4 separate regions of the Homo sapiens genome follow, and regions 1, 3 and 4 are each linked to region 2. The links are contacts of gene promoters, found by promoter capture Hi-C in blood cells and fetal thymus (Javierre and others, 2016). All regions are on one chromosome and are shown on one strand. Each heading gives the region's core, a stretch centred on a gene start or on the middle of the fragment in contact. The rest is flanking DNA. Distances are from core to core; before and after follow the strand shown.

Region 1 (3,284 bases), core at 172-2,671, 350 kb after region 2:
CTCTCTCCCAAGTCCTACACCCAAACCCCAGAGCTGTTCCCGACACACTGCTTCCCCCTCCTGTCTATAGTTGCTACTGCAGCTGCTGTGTATATAGTAGATTTTTCAAGCACTTCAGGCCATCCCTGAGACTGGTCTGGGGTTGGGAAGAGAAAGGATGTGTGTATAGAGGCTTCACCAGCCCCCCTCTCTTCCTGTGGACTTCACAATGAAAGTTTGGAACAGAGACCTCGTAAAAGAAGGAACCTCCCTCATCCTTGGATATGGAGAAGTAGTACAAGCTGTAGTGTGGTTGGAATTTTGGAGTGGAGAGAGGATGGATGAGTTTGGAGGGAATGAATCTACCAGATTAAGGCAATGATGATGATGATGATGATGCCATTTATTGAGTAGGTGCCAAGCCCTATACTAATCGCTTTCCATTCTGTTACTTAATCCTCATGACAACCCTCTAAAATGGGTACTATTATTCTTTCCATTTCACAGATGGGGAAACTGATAGAGAGACTAATTGTCTTGCCCAAGATTACACAGTGTTTGAGCGGTGGCAGAATAGAACCCAGACATCCAGAATATGGAGACCTATTCCCCACCTTGCCCCACTCCTGCCCTACCATCACTACCACCACTCCTTCTTTCTCAAAGTGTCCTTTCCAGAACCACATCAAAAACTCTTAAAATGATGGTAAATATTCAGGTTCCAAGGACCTCATCCCAGCCTACTGAATCATGATCTCTGGAGTGGAATCTGGGGATCCGCTTTCAAAGATCCTAACACACACTAAAGTTTGAGAATGCGGTTGAAAGAGGAGTCAGAAGTGTCGGGGTGCGGGAAGGGATCTGAGGTCAGAGGAGGGATCTGTTGTCCAAAGAGGCGTCTGCAGTCAAAGAGGCCTGGAGATGAAGCATGGGCTGGGGTTTTCAAAAGGGTTTGGGGGTGAAGACAGAGTCTGAAGTCGAAAAAGAGGTCTAAGGTCGGAGGAGGAGTCTAAAATCGGAGGAGGAGGATCTCGGAATTCAAGGAGGGGTCTGGGGTCCGAGGAGTTTGGGGTCAGAGACAGGATCTGGGGTCGAGAGGGATTTGCGGTCAGTGAAAGGGTCTGGGGCCCGAAAAGGAAGCCTGGGATTTGAGGAGGACACTAGCTGTATTCAGGCTGGAAGGAGGAAGGGGTTTGGTCCCTGAGCTGCGTAAAGTGCAGAGCCACTGAAGTCTCGCTTGCCCCGCGCTCTCCCCTCGACCCTGCGCTGCCTTCCTGGCTGTCCATCTACACGCACCTGTGTGCCAGCTGCAGGCTGATAGCGCTGAGCAGACGGGGGCGAGTCAGACCGGGACACGGCCGAGGGCTGGGAGAGGCGCCCCCTCCCGGCTGTCGCGAAGATCAGGCCCCGCCCTCCGCCCTCCCACTCCCCCGCCGCAGCCACTTCCGGCAGGCGCTGCGCTGCTGGGGGGCGCGGGCGAGGATGGCGGCGGAGAACGAGGCCAGCCAGGAGAGCGCCCTGGGCGCCTACTCGCCAGTGGACTACATGAGCATCACCAGCTTCCCGCGGCTGCCCGAGGACGAGCCGGCGCCCGCGGCCCCGCTGAGGGGCCGCAAGGACGAGGACGCCTTTCTGGGAGACCCCGACACCGGTGAGGCCCGCTGACCCCGTCCCTGCCCTGCCTTGGGAAGTCCCCGGTCTTCCTTCTTCTGTGTCAAGCATCCACCTCCAGCTCCATCTCCTTAATTCATCCCCATCTTCTTGGATCTCTCCCTTCTTCTCCCTTGTCTCTGTTAATTATTTGGTGAGGAAGGGGGTGCATTTCTGCCTTGGAGGCGTAGGATGCGACAACGGAGAGGATGCTAGGGACTGCAGTAGAAGGGATTGGGCTTACCTTCTGGGAAGAACCAACTAACGATGAAGGAATGTTGAAGGGGAGATCCTAAGGAACCGCTGTGATCACCCAGAAGAGGGCTTTCTCTAGCCACAGAGGACAGGATAGGAGAAACCAAGTCAGAGACTGCAGCAAGAGGGATCCAATCTGTGCCTTAAGAGAAGTTCCCCACAGCCAGGGATTGTGAGAAGCAGAGGGTCTGGGAGAAGCGGAGAATCTCTTCATGTCTAGGGAGGGGTAAAGAGAATATGATTCCCCTCTGTTGGGTGTTGGGAGACGGAGGCATGGACTGCATGACCTCTCAAAAGTCCTTGGGGACTAGAACGCCTTCACTCTCCTGTGGATTACCCCACCCCTCCCTGAGCCATGGATCTGGCCGGGGTATTAGTAAGGTACTCTGCTCCCTAGGAAGCAGTCTCCAGAATTTTACTGTGTTCCCCTCAGCCCTCTGCTGGAATTGTGAGAAGTGGGGGTAAGAGAAGGAGGAGACAGGGATTGGAAGAGACCTGGGGGCAAAGAGCTCTCTGTGCATTCCTTCCCTGCTGCTCTTCCTCCTAGCCATGTGGCCCAGCTTCATCCTCCCCTCCATTCTTCATCCTTCATCCCCCATCCCTCTGTCCCTGCACGTCACTTCCTGGCATTAGAGCATCCTTCTACCTCACTCTCGCTTCCTCGCAGTGCCTGCACTTGAGCCTTGTCTCTTACCAGCCTGGCAGATGCTGCTTTTCCGGCTTGGCCCTTCCCTAGCTGCTCCCAGCCTGAAAGCCCCAAATTCTCTCCTCCTCTACACTTTCTGGTCATCTGGCCCTGACCAGCAGCCCTTGCCAACCTGACTGGACTGCACTCTGTATGGGGTGGGGGTGAGGAGATAATGAAGATGGAGTTTAGAGGTTTATGGGCGTCAAATGTCAGGGCTGCGGATCAAAACTTATTTTCCAAAGGGAGTGGAATCAGGAGGTAGCAGGGAGAGGAGTGGGAAGATGTGTCATGATGGATATCAGCCTGAAGCTAGGCCTTTTATTCAGTAGTCAGGAGTGAGACTTCTGGTCCTAATACAGCCCTGACTCACCAAGCGACAACAGGCACACCTACCCTGTCCTGGGCCTTAGTTTCCTCTTCCAGCTCAACAGAGAATGCCTGTCTCTCTTGACCTAGAGATTGGAACTGCCTGACATGTTTTCTTCTGGCCCTCTGTAAATGTCTTAGCATTTACCAAAATCTATGATTATTTATTTGTGCAATTATCTGATTACTCCCTGTCTGTAAGCCCCATGAGGGCAGGGATCATGATTGTTTTGTTCACTCTCCTTTCTCCAGCATCAAGACCTTATCCATAGGCCGGGCGCGGTGGCTCATGCCTGAGGTGGGTGGATCACTTGAGGTCAGGAGTTCAAGACCTGCCTGGCCAACA
Region 2 (3,267 bases), core at 254-2,753:
CAATTTCAGTGCACGTATGACCCCCTGAGCTCCATGCCCAATTAAGAATATCTCTTGAGGCAGATTCTTCTAAACAAACAGACTGCCTGCTTCAACAAATATACTCCATCTCTTAGGGTGGCGAGGCTATCACTCTGATTTTCCTCAGCAAAACACCATTGTCCCAACATCATTTATTAGAATATTGCAGTCCTCTAGGTTGGAAGATACTAGAGAAATTAGTCCAACTGCACCCCCCATGAGATATAGGATAAGGTCATGGGTAAATAAGGGGAGACTAGAGTCAGCCTGCCTAGGTTAGAATTCCAATTCCATCACTCACTAGCTGTGTGACCTTGGGCAAGTTACTTAAGCTCTTTGAGTCTGTATCCCCATCTGTAAAATGGGGATAATAATTGCAGCTATTTCATAGAGTAGTTATGAGGATTGAATTGGATAATTCGTATAAAACATAGCACCAGGCCTGGCACATAGTGAGTGTTCAGTAAATGCTAGCTGGCATTATTGTGATGATGATGTATGCATCCATGCAAGCATTATGCATGCCTCCATCCAATCCCCTCCGAGAGCTTTTACTTGCACATGCCAGTGATGAGCAGCTCGCCGCCTCCTAAGCTGGTTGAGCAGCTCCAATTGTTACAAACTTCTTCCTATATCGAGCCCAAATTTGTCTTCTTGCAACCCCCACTCCCGCTGGCCCTAGTTCTGCCCTGTGGGGCCAAGCTAGAACAAGTCTATCCTACCTCCACCTGACAGCCCTTCAGCTACGAAGACAGTGATCGAGTCCTTCCTCCGCCCTCCCCCTCCCCCTTCTCCAGCTTGAACATCCTCGGTTTCTTCTCCCAACCCACAACAGACTGGCTGCGCTTACTATTTACTCCGAGGCGTTGTACGGTTTCCCTCGCACATAGTCATGCAGGCCACACACCCCACTGCCAACACAACAAACCCGACCCTCGTGCTCGGCCCCCGCCCGCTGCCCCTGTCCGCGGTGCTGAAGCAGCTCCCGGCCTCGGCGGCCCTCGGCGAGGCCCTCCCCAGCCCCCGCCCTGGGCCGCGCCAGCCCGGACCCAAGGCGCGGACCCCCGGCGCGCCGCCTCCGCGACCTCGGCAGTAGGTGCGGCCCGGCCCAGGCCCGTCCCCGGTGCCGCCCCCCGCCCTGCCCGGATGCCCCGAGCCCGCGCCCCGGCCCCGCGCGCCAGCCCCACCTGCCCGGCGAAGGGCGCCTCCGCCTCGTCCGCCCGCGCCACCGCCACCGCCACCGCTGCCCGGTTCCCTGCCCCCGCCGCCGCCGCCGCCGCCCGCGCGGCGCCCGGGAGGCAGCAGAGCGCGGGCAGCAGCAGCAGCAGCAGCCGCCCAGGGACCCGCCAGCGGCTCCAGCGCGGGGCCTGGCCCGGCGGCGGCGGCGGCGGCGGCGGCCCCGGCGCGGCGCGGCCGCCCCGGCTCCTCGGCATCCCGGCGGCGGGGCCCGCGCCCGGCCCGCCTGCCTTCGCCGCCGCCGCCGCCGCCTCGGCCGCCAGCGCGCCCCCGCCTCCGCGCGCCCCGCCCCGGTGGGGGGCGGCCGGGGGCGCGGGGGCAGCACCCGGGCGGGACCTGCGAGGGCAGTGGCTCCCCGACCAGCCCTGGGGCAGGGGCCGCGGAGCGGCGCTGGGGAGGGGGTTGCAGAGGCTAAAAGAACAGTTCTAGAGGCAGGGTCCGAAGGGGTGGAACTGGAGGTCGGGGTCTGGGGGTAGCCCTGAGCAGGAGGGGGAAGAGGCTAAATCAGTAATCCTGGAGGTAGAACAACTGGATGGCCCTGGGGGAACATATCCGGGGTTGGGGGTCCGGAACCCTGGGGAGAGGGTCCTAGGGAGTGGCATTGGAGGAGAGGGGGCCTGAGAGGCAGCCTGGGGGAGGAGACTGAGGAGCGGCTCTGGGGTAAAGGCGGGGTTCGAGAGCAAGCTAAAGAAATAGCCCTGGGTCTGAGAGGGTGACTCCGGAGAGGGAGCTCTGAGTGGCTCTCCTGGGCCGGGGTGGTGGGGGAAAGGGGTAGAGAAGACCTGAGGAGCGTTTAAGAGGGGGCATTCCTGTGAGACATTAGGTGAAGTTGAGGTGAAGCTCAGTCCCTCACCCCTAGAGGGAAAGAGCTCATCCAGCTGGGAAGATCATCTTTCATCCAAAACAACCCATATTTATCAAGCGCTTTCTATTTGTAGGGCTCTGGGCTACTTGGGATGCTGAAAGGAAAAAAAAAAACACCCAAAAACAAAAACAAAAAAGAGAAGGCCGATTTCCTGGAGTGCAGAGGTTTACAGCTTGATGAGAAAACATAAACGCAAAGAAAAACAGAATGGCAAACACCACGTGTCAACAAGGATACAGGCGGCTGCTCCAGGGGTCGAGGGAGACCTGATGAGGGGCTGGGGAAGTTAGGAAAAAGTGTAATGGAGGAGGGTGGGACTCTAGCTAGGACCTGAAGGAAAGGCTGGATTTAAACCAGGGGAGGGGAGAGGAGAGGGCATTTCAGGGAGGAAGTTGAGGGTGTACAGGATGTGCCTGAGGCGGCAGATAAGTTTCTCTGGAGCACAGGGTTCCTATAGGAAAGTGTTGGGAAGTGAGGGAAGTTGTACAAGACAGTGAATGCTAGGATAATAAATTTGGGTTGTGTTCTGAAGGAAAATGGGGGAGGGTGGTCATTAAAGGTTGTGTGTGTGTGGTGTGTGTGTGTGTATGTGTGTGTTTAAGCAGGATGATGTGTGAAAATAGTATTTTATGATTACGTGGTAATTTGGAGATGAAAAAAGGGCACAGGCTTTAGCGTCAGACCTATGTTCATATCTTGGCTCTGTTCCATTTTTATAAAATGATGCTACTATTACTGTATAAGATTGCTTTCAGCATGAGGTGCTTGACACTTAATAGATATTCCATGTTAGTTCCCCTCCCAGTGGAGAGAATAATGACCAGAGGAGGCAGAGAGATTGGTTAGGAGACTAGTGTAATAGTCTAAGTATAAGGAAATAAGGATAACAATAATAATTAACATTTATTGAGTGCCTAATACATACTAGTTACTGGGCTAAGCACTTTCCTCCACGATATCTCATTTAATCTTCATAGATAAACCCTATGAAATAGATGCTATTATTACCCCTAATTTAGGATAAAGAAGTGGAAGACTCTGAATAAGTTTGCCAAACTTGCGTGATTCATAAGTGATAGAGCTGAATCGATTTGACTTCAGAACCCATTTTTTTCTAGGATGGGGGTGAGAAAAGAGACAGATTT
Region 3 (3,683 bases), core at 197-2,696, 400 kb after region 2:
TTCAGAGCCCAATATTGTAATCATTATGCTATACTATCTGCTAGTTTATGGCCTGTTTTTGTTCTTTTGCTGCCTGCCTGCAGGCAACAAGTATTTGTGTTGCCTAGGCTCCTGCTATTTTTACCTACAGGATCTGCAGGTGCCCAATGCGCCCCTGTCTTCTCAGCTCTTTGCATTCTTGCAGATCCCAGGAACACCCATGACCCTTGGCTTAAGGACATGGACAACAAGGTGAAAAAATTAGGATAGTGGCTCTGGAATCTTTTGTGCGTGTGTATGGTAAAATACATATATAACATAAAATTTGCCATTTTAACCATTTTTAAGCATATAATTCGGTGGCATTAAGTATATTCACATGCAACCATCACCACCATCTACCTCCAGAACTTTGTTTTCCCCAACTGAAACTTTGTATTCATTAAACACAAACTTCCCATTCCCTCTCCCTCTAGCCCTTGGCAACCACTCTACTTTCTGTCTTTATGAATTTGACTACTTTAGGAACCTCATATAGGAGGAATCATACAATATTTGTCTTTTTGTGACCGACTTATTTCACTTAGCATAATATCTTCAAGGTTCATCTGTGGTGTACGTCGGGTCAGAATTTCCTTCCTTCATGAAGGCTGAGCGATGCTTCATTGCATGTATAGACCACATTTTGCTTATCTATTCAACTGTCTATAGATATGTAGGTTGCTTCCACATGTTGGCTATTGTGAACAATGCTGCTGTGAACAGGGGTGCACAAATATCTCTTTGAAACTCTGCTTTCACTTCTTTATTTTTTAAATTTTATTTCGAAACAGGGTTTTGCTCCATCACCCAGGCTGGAATGCAGGAATGGAAACATGGCTCACTGCAGCCTCAACCTCCTGGGCTCAACTGATCCTCTCGCCTTAGCCTCCTGGGTAGCTGGGACCACAGGTATGTGCTGCCACACCTGGCTTGTTCATTTATTTATTTTTAAACTTTGAGACAGGGTCTCATCTGTCACCCAGGCTGGAGTACAGTGGTACTAATGTGATTTCACTTATTTTGGATGAATACCCAGAAGTGGAATTACTGGCTCATAGGGTAATCCTATGTTTAACATTTTTTTCCTTGAGACTGGGTCTTGCTATGTTGCCCAGGGTGGACTCAAACTCCTGGGTTCAAGTGATCCTCCTGCCCTAGCCTCCCAAGTAGCTGGGATTACAGGGGCGCCTATGTTTAACTTTTTGAGGAAATGCCAAACTGTTTTCCACCATGGCTGCATCAATTTATATTCCTGGCTGGGCGCAGTGGCTCACGCCTGTAATCCCAGCATTTTGGGAGGCCAAGGCAGGTGGAACACTTGAGCCCAGGAGTTTGAGACTAGCCTGGGCAACAGGGTGAAACCCTGTCTCTACAGAAAATGCAAAGATTGGCCGGGCATGGTGGCGCATGCCTGTAATCCCAGCTACTCTGGAGGCTGGGGCATGAGAATTGCTTGAACCCGGGAGGCGGAGGTTGCAGTGAGCCGAGATTGCACCACTGCACTCCAGCCTGGGTGACAGAGCGAGATCGTCTCAAAGAAAAACAAAAAACAAAAACAAAATACATTCCCACCAGCAATGCATAAAAGTGCTAATTTCTCCGCATCTTTGCCAAAACTTGTTATTTTCTGCCTTTTAAAAAAATAACAGCAGCTGGGCGCCGTGGCTCACGCCTGTAATCCTAACACATTGGGAGGCCAAGGCAGGGGGAATGACTGAGCTCAGGAGTTTGAGACCAGCCTGGACAACATGGCAAAACCCCACCTCTACTAAAAATACAAAAAATTAGCTGGCCATGGTGGTGCGCGCCTGTAATTCCGGCTACTTCAGAGGCTGAGGTACAAGAATTGCTTGAACCTGGGAGGCAGAGGTTGCAGTGAGCTGAGATCGCACCACTGCACTCCAGTCTGGGCGACAGAGTGAGATTCTGTCTCAATAAATAAATACATACATACATAAATAGGGTATGAATTGGTATCTCATTGTGGTTTTGATTTGCATTTCCTTAATGACTACAGAGATTGAACATCTTTTCATGTGCTTATTAGCCATTTGTATATCTTCTTTGAAGAAATGTCTATTCAAGTCCTTTGCCTTTTTTTTTTGAGACAGGGTCTCACTCTGTCACCCAGTCTGGAGAGCAGTGATGTGATCTTGGCTTACTGTAGCCTCCAATTCCCAGGCTGAAGTGATCCTTCCACCTCAGTCTCATGAGTAGTTGGGATTACGGGCACACACGACCATGACCAGCTAATTTTTAAATTTTTTGTAGAGATGAAGTCTTACTGTGTTGCCCAGGCTGGTCTCAAACTCCTGGACTCAAGCAATCCTCCTGCCTTGGCCTCCCAAAGTGCTGGAATTACAGGCATGAGCCATAGCACCCAGTCTTATTGCTGAGTTTCTGGAATCTTTGAGAGCTTTCTTATCTCTAGAAGTCTTTGTGGGTTTGGAAATATGTCAGTGAGGTCTTCTCAGCCTCTGGGCTGGCTGTTGTCAGGACCTCTGTGTCTGTAGGATGAAGTAGCCAGAGCTTTTCATTCAGTCTTTCAGGTTAATTAATCAAGTCATTCATTAATTGTATCTTTATCCAAAAAATCACCCTTTGGCTATGTCAGATTTCCAGGCTAACACAAGAGTACAAACTGTATGGTTCTGTTTCTATGGAGATCAAAAACTGTCAAAGTTAATCTACGGCTGGGCGTGGTGGCTCATGCCTGTAATCCCAGCACTTTGGGAAGCCAAGGCGGGCAGATCACAAGGTCAGGAGATCGAGACCACGGTGAAACCCCGTCTCTACTAAAAATACAAAAAATTAGCCTGGCGTGGTGGTGGGTGCCTGTAGTCCCAGCTACTCAGGAGGTTGAGGCAGGAGAATGGCGTGAACCCGGGAGGCAGAGCTTGCAGTGAGCCGAGATTGTGCCACTGCACTCCAGCCTGGGCGACAGAGCGCGACTCCATCTCAAAAAAAAAAAAAAAGTTAATCTATGGTGCTAGAAGTCAGAATAATGGTTACATCTGGGGGAGCAGGTATTTATTAGAAGAGAACATACAAAAGAGAACAAAAGGGAACTTTCTGGGTTGATAGATCTATAACTTGATCTAGGTGGTGGTAACACAGGAATGTAGGCAAAAAAATTATTAGATATACACTTAATAGTTTTTCATTTTATTGTATATAAATTATATTTCAGTTTTTAAAAGTTAAAATAAAAAGCTTCAGAAAAGTTTTTTTTTCCAGGATATTTTAAATTTATTTGGTGTTAATTTCATAGGCTCAAAGGTCTAAGGTGCCCCCCTGTTGCGGTTGCCTGTGGTTCTCTTTGCTCCTGTCTGCCCTCTTGGGCCCAATACCTAGTATTGTGCTTAGGATTCACAAACGCAACAAATACTTACTGAGCACCTACTCTGTGCCAGGTGCTGTGCTATATGCTGAGAAAACAATGTTAAACAAGATGGATAAGGTTTTCTTCCTTATGGTGTCCATAGTCTAGTGGCAAAGACAGGTAATAATGACTCAGTGTATTCTACTAAGGACAAGCATATCGTGCTAAGAAAACCTGTGTGGGAATGGGTCAGGGAAGGTATCCTTGGAGTAGCCCCGTTTGAACTGGGATCTGAAGACTGAGAGTTATCTAAGTGGGGAGAGCATTGCAGGCAGGGGGA
Region 4 (3,240 bases), core at 28-2,527, 380 kb after region 2:
TAGAGATGATCAGGGTGGGGTTATCCTGTTCTTCCCCATTGCCATCTTTCTTGGCTTGGTCCTTTCTCCTGTGACCCGTAGCAGCCTCATAGCTCAGTGGATGTACTTATCACTCCCCCATCCACCCCACCCATCCAGGCACCCTACCCATTTCACAGATAGCAAACTGTTGTCTGGGAAGGGACCAGTCTCCCAGGAAAACTGGGCCTGTGGAAGATGTAGAAGAGGGAGAGCAGTTGGAAGGGTTGTGGAGGGGCCCTTTCCCGGTCTTGTCCCACCCCACCTGCCCCTTGTGGTCTCTGTCCTCTAACAACAGGAGAATTCAGTGCAGCCAGGGAAGCGGCCACTCTCTTTCCTGCTGCCCACAGTGGTCCGACCCGCGGAGGGGCTCTGTGGAACCTACCTCGCTCTGGGGGCCAATGGAGCTGCGCGGGGCCTCAGCGGCCTGACACAGGTGAGGTTTACGCCATGGTTGGCCTTTTTCAGCCGGGAGCCAAGCTGTGGCCTAGACTGCAGATGCCTGTCATATCTGTGGCTTGTTTCCATTCCTCATGCGGCAAACATGGGCTGAGGCTGTTTTGTGCCAGGCGCATCCTGGGCAATGTGGACATGGGCTGCGCTGAGTTTCTTAGTGAAAATGGAGCCCTGATGCTCCCTGTCTTTCCCGGTTGCAGGGGAAATGGCAGGGTCAGTAGATTGAAAAGTGGGGTTAGCATCTGGGTGGCCTGGGTTCTGTTAACCTCAAGTCCCATTATACCTCTACCCAGCATCTGAATAGACAACCAGCCCTCTTTAGGGTGGGATTTGAAAGGAAGGGCCTGCTTTTCTCCAGAACACCTCAGAATGGCTCCATGAATGTCTTGAGAACCTGATATATATGCCAGGCACCTATTTTGGCAGGTGGTGAGTTAACGATCTTAAGTTCTGGAATCAGACACTCCTGGGTTCCGGCCCAAGTGCTACCAATTTGTAACTGTGTGATGCTGGAGCATTCACTTAACAGCTCTGAACCTCAGTCTCTTCATCTTTAAAATGGAAATAATAACAATAGCTAACATTTAAAGAGTTCGTACTAAGTGCTGGGCACTGTGTTATGTGTGTTAACCATTTTAACCTTCCCAGTTCTGGAGAGAATCCTTATTTCTATTTTATAGATAAGGAAACCGAAGCCCAGAGAGGTTAAGACTTTAGGTCAAGTACCTTCAGCTAGAAAGAGCAGGGAGGCAGTTTGGTTCCAGAGCCTACGCACACTCCTAACCACTAAGTTAAAAGCACCCACATTGTGCCCTAGACCACTCCTAGCTATTAACCTTGCCCTATCCAGAGAGAAAAGAAGGGAGCCCCGGGCTAGATTAAAGAGACTTGGTTCTAGTGGTGTATCTTCCCTGGCTTCCTCTAAACTCTGGAGTAAGTCATTTTCCTTGCTGGACTTCACTTTCCCTCTCTGTGAAATGGAAACAGTCATCACAGGCCTGCCTGTCTTCCAGGGCTGTTAGGAGGCTCAGATGACACCCGGTGTAAGAATTCTCAAGACTAAGGAGCCTGGACCAAGGGTGAGAGCTGAGGAATCCTGGACCATCACCCCTGGGACAGCCCTGATTTTTCTGTACCTTGGCTACCACAGGTTCTGCTGAATGTCCTGACCTTGAACCGGAACCTGAGTGACAGCCTGGCCCGCGGCCGCCTACACCCGGACCTGCAGTCCAACCTCCTGCAGGTGGACAGTGAGTGCAGAGCAGAGACCTCGTGGGGCGGGCACAGGGACAGGTAGAGAAAGGACTCCTCCCAAGGGTGCCCATGCCTCAACCAGCACCAACTGCCAGTGAAGTTTGGTTTTATTTGGCAAATTTCTATTGGAGCAGTGAACGATCTGGGGATTGGAACCAGTCTTGCCATTTCCTGGTTGTGTGGCCTTGGGAAATCCATGTCTCAACTCTGAGCCTCAGTTTTCTCATTTGTAAAATAAGACACAGTTGTTCATTCTTCAAACTTTCATTTACTCAACAGTTTGTATTGAACACGTACGTGTTCCAGGCATCATCCTAGGTGCTGGGGATTCTGCATTTACAGGCAAACAAGAAAATAAGTCATCAAAGAAATATGAGACAAATAAATGCTCTGCCAACTGTCAAAGCAGGGTGATATAATAGGACGGACTCAATGATCAAGGAAGACTTCTCTTTGGTGGCATTTAAGCTGAGATCTAAAGAGTGAGAAAGAAACTGGGTGCAATGGCTCAGACCTATAATCCCAGGCTGAGGTGAGAGGATCGCTTGAGGCCAAGAGTTCAAGAGCAGCCTCAGTAACATAGTGAGACCCCCCTCCACCCCCCCGTCTCTATAAAAAAATTTTTTTAAATTAGCCAGGCATGGCACGTGCCTGTGGTTCTAGCTACTCGGGAGGCTGAGGCAGGAGAATTGCTTGAACCAGGGAGGCAGAGGTTACAGTGAGCCAAGATCACGCCACTGCCCTACAGCCTGGGTAACAGAGTGAGATCCTATCTCCTAAAAAAAAAAAAAAAAAGTAAGAGAGAGCCCACTATACAAAGAATTGGTGCAGAGCTTTGTAGGTCAGGGGAGCAAGTACAAAGAACTCAGGGCAGGAGTGGGTTTGGTGAGTTTGAGGACTAAAAAGGAGACCAAGGTAAGCAAGGATGAAATTAGATCAGAGAGGCAGGCAGGCGCCGGATCGTGGACCTTAGGGTGAGGAGACGGACTTTCCTCTAAGAAAAGGGCTTAATTTTGGCACAGCTGAATTTTATAAACAGGAAAGTATCTGCACCTTTGAGGAGTTTTTATTATAACAGACAATGTATTAATATGACACGAGTCCAAAAGAATACAGAATTGATTGAGACACAGTCCTTGCCTGTTCAATATTATTATCCCCATTCTATAGAGGAAGAAACTGAGGCTCACAGAAGTTATAAACTAGTCAAAGATCAACCACTAAGTGGCAGAACTTCAATTAGGACACACACCTGGCTGATACCAAAGACTCTATTCTTTACTGCACAGCTCTTGATATCTCCTGGACTGAATCACATTAGAAGCAGAGACCGCGATCTTCAACAATCACATCCTGTGGTTGGCCAGCGACACTTGGATCCCAGCTGATAGATGACAAGGCCACATCCTTGAAATTGAATTTTGTTCAACAAATATCTGCTGGTCTCTGTTGAATGTGAGGCTCTGTGCTAAGTTATTTGGGCTCAGCCCAGTCCTGCCTTCAGGGCCTTAG

What was found. Contacts are between HindIII fragments. The CHiCAGO score rates a contact against its expected background, and 5 or more counts as called.
Region 1: the fragment with the promoter of GGT7 here is called in contact with the fragment with the promoter of MMP24 in region 2 in 3 of 17 cell types (endothelial precursors, erythroblasts and M2 macrophages); the score reaches 8.1 in endothelial precursors.
Region 3: a fragment that was not itself captured here is called in contact with the fragment with the promoter of MMP24 in region 2 in 6 of 17 cell types (endothelial precursors, M0 macrophages, M1 macrophages and 3 more); the score reaches 10.2 in endothelial precursors.
Region 4: a contact is called between a fragment that was not itself captured here and the fragment with the promoter of MMP24 in region 2, in 6 of 17 cell types (M1 macrophages, endothelial precursors, M2 macrophages and 3 more). The highest score is 9.2, in M1 macrophages.

Annotation. Positions count from the first base shown.
Region 1 is chr20:34,870,993-34,874,276 of GRCh38, reverse strand. It overlaps GGT7 (gamma-glutamyltransferase 7), which reads left to right and starts at 1,421. Exons shown (of 15, transcript NM_178026.3): 1 at 1,421-1,630. The coding sequence starts at 1,462. RefSeq lists a silencer at 1,250-1,539. The HindIII fragment of the contact is 15,552 bases long and covers 1-3,284 here.
Region 2 is chr20:35,224,926-35,228,192 of GRCh38, reverse strand. MMP24 (matrix metallopeptidase 24) reads right to left here and starts at 1,503. Exons shown (of 9, transcript NM_006690.4): 1 at 1,209-1,503. The coding sequence starts at 1,454. The region is part of intron 3 of MMP24-AS1-EDEM2 (MMP24-AS1-EDEM2 readthrough); the gene reads left to right. The HindIII fragment of the contact is 9,584 bases long and covers 1-3,267 here.
Region 3 is chr20:34,829,094-34,832,776 of GRCh38, reverse strand. No RefSeq gene overlaps it. Among named protein-coding and RNA genes, the nearest start is that of NCOA6, 5.3 kb to the right of the region's middle. The HindIII fragment of the contact is 3,581 bases long and covers 1-3,236 here.
Region 4 is chr20:34,848,445-34,851,684 of GRCh38, reverse strand. It overlaps GGT7 (gamma-glutamyltransferase 7), which reads left to right. Exons shown (of 15, transcript NM_178026.3): 13 at 317-454; 14 at 1,625-1,724. Among named protein-coding and RNA genes, the nearest start is that of GGT7, 23 kb to the left of the region's middle. The HindIII fragment of the contact is 6,567 bases long and covers 1-3,240 here.